2 separate regions of the Homo sapiens genome follow, and region 2 is linked to region 1. Evidence: promoter capture Hi-C in 16 types of primary human blood cells and fetal thymus (Javierre and others, 2016). All regions are on one chromosome and are shown on one strand. The core of a region is centred on a gene start or on the middle of the fragment in contact, and the rest is flanking DNA. Distances in the headings are between cores, read along the strand shown. Region 1 holds the start of LRP12 (LDL receptor related protein 12). Region 2 has its middle 170 kb from the start of LRP12.

Region 1 (3,324 bases), core at 563-3,062:
GTCCCACACAAGCACACCTCTGGCAATTACCCCTACATAAAAAATGGACCAAACTACTCTCCTCACCAAAACAAACAAAAATACTACTAATCAGGTACGGGAGCAACACATCCTTAATTGTACCAAAAAGAATTTCTTGGCTGTCAGTAAATGCCCAATTACGTTCATTAATTCTTCATTTAGCGTCACTTGCCAGGTTTCAAAAGCCACCATCACATTCAATTCCGTAGATAAATGCCTTCAAAAGAGATAACACTTGCTGACAAATTGGCTGTTGACTAAACCTCACCACCACCACCATTATACTAGTCAAATCAATGTTTGTGGCAAATGAATTAGACTTTTTATAAGTAAAATTTACCAAAGTAATGATATCTTCTAATTCTTTTTCTGGAGAAATCAGAGCAACACTCCAAAAAGGAAAGGTTAAAACTGAGCTCTCTGAAATACCTATTCAGTGTGTTTAACTGATGAACTAAGAACGGTGAAGTCAGAAGTGTAACTTAATTATCTTAAGAGATAGATGTTCTTTGCAATTAATTCCATTCAGCTCTTGCTCAGACCCCAACGCAATATAAAGCTGTCCGCACAGTCTTCAGCCTTCTCTTAACCCGAAAGGAGTTATCTCTAACCCGATCCATCGACTGGAATAAAGTAACAGTGACCACAGCGGCGGACGAGGATGGATGAAATTACAATTGAACTAGGAGTCAGGACAGATGTGTACACCCTAACAGGAGAGACTGAGGTGGGGCTGGAAACTATTTTCTGGCCTTCTCCCGCGTGCTGCTCCCGGGGAACCAACAGGACCCTGCACGCCCGGATTCGGCAGAGCCCTTGCCCCCGAGGTGGAGTGGGGAGAAGTCAGCGGGAAGCCTTTTCAGGGAATCGAGTAGGACAAGGGCTGGCGCGGTGGGAATCTCGCCGGTGAGAGAACTTCCTAACCCCGGGTTGAGGGGGCGGGGGGAAGGACCGTCCCGGCAGCGGCGGGGGCGAGCTCCTCTGCTTTCTCACAGTCAAGCATCTTTGTGTGTGGATTGTGCCAGGCTACGGGTCCTGGAGCAACTGGCCGCGGGGGCCCTCGAACCCAGGTCGGGAAGTCCGCCCGCCACCCCCTCGCTCCGCCGGGGCCCTCCCGGCCGGGCCCCCCAGCCCCTCTCCACCACCCGAGGGTCTGGAGGTGGACGAGTGGAGAAAAGCATCTCCGTGTGGGGACACCCGTTCCGCCACATCCACCCCCTCACCGGTCTTTGTCCCGCCGGTAGCCAGGGTCTCCGCGGGAGTCTCCAGGGGAACCCCCGTCCTGGAGGCCTCGGGGCCCGGGTCGCCTCAGCTTTGTTCGGTCAGCGGGGCGCGGGGACGCGGACACTTACCGTACACCCCAGCGAGGAAAAGCAAGAGCAACGCAGACCTCCACCGCGGAGACTCTTTTGTGCTCCAGCGACAGGCCATAACCACAGCAGATGGAGAGAGAGAGGAGGAGACGGAGGAGGAGGGAGGAGAAGCTGGAGGTAGACGACGCCGACGCCGCCGCCGCCGCCGCCGCCGCCGCCGAGCCACCGGCTGCTCCCTGCGCTCTCCGCGGCTGCGGGAGGGGGAAGGGAGGGGCCGCCGCCGCCCGCGCGCGCTCCCTCCTCCCTCCTCCCTCCGGCTCGCCTGCTCCCACCCCGGGCGGTGCGAGAGCCCCACGCGGGGCGGCCCTCCTGGGGGCAAGGGCAAGGAGCTCGCGCGCCAGCGCGAGACGAGAGGGTGGCGGACGCCGGACTCCGGCCTCGCGCCGCTCGGGCTAGCCGGCGCCGCCACTCGCCAGACTGAGCGCGCGCCCATCCGTGCGATCGGCAATCCCCTGGCCCGCCTGCCTCGGTTCCCTCCCCGCGCTCCGCTGGACTTTCCAAGTTTCGGGCCGATTTCCACGCGACGGGAGCCCAAGGAGCAAGGCAGCGCCAATCGATGACAGAGCGTGCGAACGCCGGCTGCTGGATGCCCAGGGGCTGGAGCGCGGGGTGTGTGGAGGAGCACGGTCGCTGTCCGAGGGCTGGGCTCTGGCCCAGCGGGTGGGGGGAGGGGGGGTGGGATACCAGCTGGGAGGCTGAAGGTGGTTCCGTGTTGGGGGAGGCGTGGATGGTCTGAAGCTGACAACTTGGGAGTTCCTTCCTCTATCCGGTACCCCCAAGTCTCCACTTGCTGTCGGCGCGGAGCTTCGAGTGGGGGTGGGCTCAAGTTAGTGCGGCCAACCTGGCAGCTGGTCGGTCAAGGGGCAGTGTGGACTCCCACGCTCAAGGTGCCCGGAATGAGTCGGGCAAGGCTTGTGCAGAGCCCCTCCAGTCTGGCGTGGAAGCGCCAAGAGGTCATTTGACATCTCACGCTGGGTCGGGTGCAGCTGGGCCAGGATGTTCGGCAGGGCTGGAGCCGACTTTCAGGGTAGATATATTGAAAGGAGGATTCGCCCATCACGCTGCAGTTTCCCTAAAGCTCTTTTCTCACTCCCAGCAAATGGGAGTCCTCCTTTACTTAGATCCCCAGAACACTTTTCTAAGTACGTCTGTAGTGACGCTGGCACATCAGACCTTACCCCCTGTGTTTTTAAAGCGTTTGTCTACAACGTCTTATTTATATTAGATTTTATCGTTGCCCTTTGCAAGCACTCTCCATGCTATTCATTGAAGACCTACACTGCATCATGCTGTCCTATTGACATAGGTTGTCACTTTTTAATCCCAAACATCCTTGTGAGATAAATATTACCCATGTTTTATAGAAAAGAGAGAAATTAAATTACTCATGGCAAGTAAGTTGTTTGAAACAGTTTTTCTCATTCCAAAGTAAAGATTGTTGCCCCTATACCACAGCAAACTCTCTAGCACAATGCTTAGCGCCTAGTAATGTGTCGGAGTTGGTGCCTGCCAGGGGGTTCGTGGTCTCCCTGACTTCAAGAATGAAGCTGCAGACCTTCCCGGTGACTGTTAACAGCTCTTAAAGATGGCACGGACTCAAAGAGTGAGCGGTAGCAAGGTTTATTGCGAAGAGCAAAAGGACAGCTTCCACAGCATGGAAGAGAACCCCAGGTGCTGGCTGGTGGTGGCCAGCTTTTATTCCCTTGTGGTCCCCTCCCATGTTCCATTTCTGTCCTATCGGAGTGCCCCTCTTTCAATCCTCCCTGCGATTGGCTACTTTTGGAATCCTGCTGATTGGTGCGTTTTACAGAGTGCTGATTGGTGCATTTTACAGAGCGCTGATTGGTGCATTTTACAATCCTCTTGTAAGACAGGAAAGTTCCTCAAGTCCCCACTGGACCCAGGAAGTTCAGCTGGCCTCACCTCTCAG
Region 2 (3,324 bases), core at 605-3,104, 170 kb after region 1:
TAATAAGGCTATATTAGATCTTGTCCTCCCCACAGTGAGACAATTTAAATAGATCTTTGGACAAATATGTGTTCCCATTATTTTGGTTCCTCCACTACTTCAGTTTCAGCACGTCCCTGGCCACATTTTCTCCTCCTGACATAAAGTTGAACCAAGTACAGTAGAAGAGAGTCACCTAAAAAGAGTTTTTGCAGAGAGCAGGTGAGAAGCTCACATCTACTAATCCGAACAATAGCCCTTTGGAATATGCTTCAGTGGCTCTGTGCACTTCTTTTCAGCAACCAGTATATTGGTGATTACTTAATTATATAATATGCCTGGGTTCTTCCTCATGAGGTTTGTACCTATACCCTGAAATATACATATGTATGTCTTCCGTGAGGGTTATGTATATATAGCCTGCTAGTAGGGCTAAATATAAAAATACACCGTGTTCCCAGAGCCTAGGAGAGTGCCTTGCACGTATTAGGTGCTGAGTAAATATTTTTGGATTGATTGTCTAAATGAAAAGTGTTCTGAAGACATGATTTCTAGTTCCGACTCTGTGGCTTGTGTTTTGGCCTAGACCAGTAAGTTCTTGTGAAAATCAGATGAGAGAATGTGCTTTAATATAGTACTTTAAAATAGTAAATTTCCATAATGCAGCTTATTAAAACCAATGGTCACAATTGGCCTTCTGCAATGTTCGGTTTGGGTCGATTTAATTCATTGAGGGCCTACTGCATGCAAGATATAGGTGCAGACATTGCTCAGGAGCCCCAGAAAAGTTAGACACGGCCCCTGTTCCAAAAGAGATGAAGAGATTTTGATAAAAGGACAGGAAAATAAGACAAATATGAAAATAAGAATATCTGGTGAATAATTCAAAATACTTAATCATTGGTATGACAGAGGCAATTAACTATGAGAATGAACGTCTGCAGTAGAACTGAATATCAATCCTAGTAGAGGTGACATGGACTTTATAATAATGTCTTTACCTGACAAGAAGTGAATAAGGAGTAAAGTAATAGTGCTACTCAAGCTTTCTCATGGAAGTGTATATAACAGCAGATAAGTTAAAAAAATATTTTCTGTGGTCTGAGCCTGTGTGGCCCCAAATGGCACACCATGATTTTGAAATTACTTTGAAGTCCTGGGCTTTATCTCAAACACCATGAACATTTTGCATTCTGTACCATAATGCACCCCATTTCCTTGGATTATAATATACAAATACTACCCTCTACTCCACTAAAAATCTGAATCTAATTGACACTCCAGGAAGCTCCACTGAATTTAGTTAGGTATACTTGGTTGTTGGCCTAAAAGGAAGAAGCTGAGGCAAAATTAATATAGAGAGTTTATTTGGGCCAAGGTCAAGGGCTGCAGCCTGGGATACGCTTCCAAGTTGCCTTGGCGAGTGGTCCAGAGAACAAAATAGAGGCTCAAGTTTTTAAAGAAAAAAGGATGAATCAGGAGAGGGGGCAGTTACAAAAGTTGTTTGTCAGGAATTCTCATTGGTTAACAGAAATAACATTTGTTACCAGAAAGGGGTCTGGATCCAGACCCCAAGAGAGGTTCTTGGATCTTGAACAAGAAAGAATTCTGGGTGAATCTATAAAGTGAGATAAAGTTTATTAAGAAAGTAAAGGAATAAATGAATGGCTACTCCATAGGCAGAGCATCCCCAAGGGATGCTGGCTGCCCATTTTTATGGTTATTTCTTGATTATATACTAAACAAGGGGTGGATTATTCATGCCTCCCCTTTTTAGACCATATAGGGTAACTTCCTGATGGTGCCATGGCATTTATAAGCTGTCATGGTGCTTGTGGGAGTGTAACAGTGAGGACACCAGAGGTCACTCTCATCGCCATCTTGGTTTGGGTTTTGGTAAGTTTTAGCCAGCTTCTTTACTGCAACCTGTTTTATCAGCAAGGTCTTTATGATCTGTGTCTTGTGCTGACCTCCTATCTCATCCCGTGACTAAGAATGCCTTAACCTCCTGGGAATGCAACCCAGTAGGTCTCAGCCTTATTTTACCCAGCCCCTATTCAAGATGGAGTCACTCTGGTTCAAACGTCTCTGACACACTGGTTAATGATTGGCTATACATTGTTGAAGTACAGGGTGTACAGCATTTTATGGCTACTTGGCATCAGTTAGTCTAGAGCCTACATTGCAAGTGGCTTCAAGAAACAATTATTTTCATTTTTAATTTTTGTGGGTACATAGTAGGTATATATATTTATGGGATACATGAGATATTTTGATACAGGCATACAATGTGTAATAATTATATCAGGATAAATGGGGTATGTATCAGCTCAAGGGCGAGTGAGGTATGACTAGTGTTATATTTCAAATGCCTTTCTGGGCCTGATAATTTAAAGGGGCTCACATTCCTCAGATAAAAAGTATTTTTCTTTCTCACGGTCATGTTTCCTGGCACTGCAGAGGGTGTACTGCAGCTGAAAGCTGGAGATCCTGTGGGAGAATCACAGGGTCAGATCATTCAATCAGAAGTAGACATTTGCTCTGAAGGATCTACTTCTCTTTTGGGTCTGCGCCCTCCACGTGTCAGGGGCAGCACATCCCCTTCATTTTATTTATTTATTCCAGGCCTAGAAGACTTGGCATTCTGTCATTCACTGTGAAATTTTGGGATAACATTCTTAGTTTTCCTGTTTCTAGACTAGTTCTCAAGCTTCCTGGATGACTTCTCAGGGCTCTATAAGGGCAGGCAGGATCAGAGGTTAGCTTCGCACTCTACCCTCCCACCCCCCAGTGCTTCTCTGAGGGCGCTGGTGATGTTCTGGAGACTACATTCAATTGTGTTTTCTCAAACTCATCTGCCGTGACATTTGTTACAGGAAAGGGGTCTGGATCCAGATCCCAAGGGAGGGTTCTTGGATCTCGCACAAGGAAGAATTCAGGGCGAGCCCATGGAGTAAAGTGAAAACAAGCTTATTAAGAAAGTAAAGGCATGAAAGAATGGCTACTGCATAGGCAGAGCAGCCTTGAGGGCTGCTGGTTGCCCATTTTTATGTTGTTTTTTTTTTTTTTAAATTATATACTAAAGAGGTGAATCCCCTTTTTAGACCGTATAGGATAACTTCCTGATGTTGCCATGGCATTTATAAACTGTCATGGCGCTAGTGGGAGTGTAGCAGTGAGGAAGGCCAGAGGTCACTCTAGTGGCCATCTTGGTTTTGGTGGGTTTTGGCCAGCTTCTTTACTGCAAACTGTTTTATCAGCAAGGTCTTTATGACCTGTATTTTGTGCTGACCTCCTATCTCATCCTGTGACTTAGAATGCCTTAACCATCTGGGAATGCAGCCC

The links. Contacts are between HindIII fragments. The CHiCAGO score rates a contact against its expected background, and 5 or more counts as called.
Region 2: a fragment that was not itself captured here is called in contact with the fragment with the promoter of LRP12 in region 1 in 2 of 17 cell types (M2 macrophages and megakaryocytes); the score reaches 6.1 in M2 macrophages.

Annotation. Positions count from the first base shown.
Region 1 is chr8:104,587,446-104,590,769 of GRCh38, forward strand. It overlaps LRP12 (LDL receptor related protein 12), which reads right to left and starts at 1,813. Exons shown (of 7, transcript NM_013437.5): 1 at 1,374-1,813. The coding sequence starts at 1,452. RefSeq lists silencers at 972-1,081, 1,512-1,851. The HindIII fragment of the contact is 14,799 bases long and covers 1-3,324 here.
Region 2 is chr8:104,760,390-104,763,713 of GRCh38, forward strand. No RefSeq gene overlaps it. Among named protein-coding and RNA genes, the nearest start is that of LRP12, 170 kb to the left of the region's middle. The HindIII fragment of the contact is 1,665 bases long and covers 1,023-2,687 here.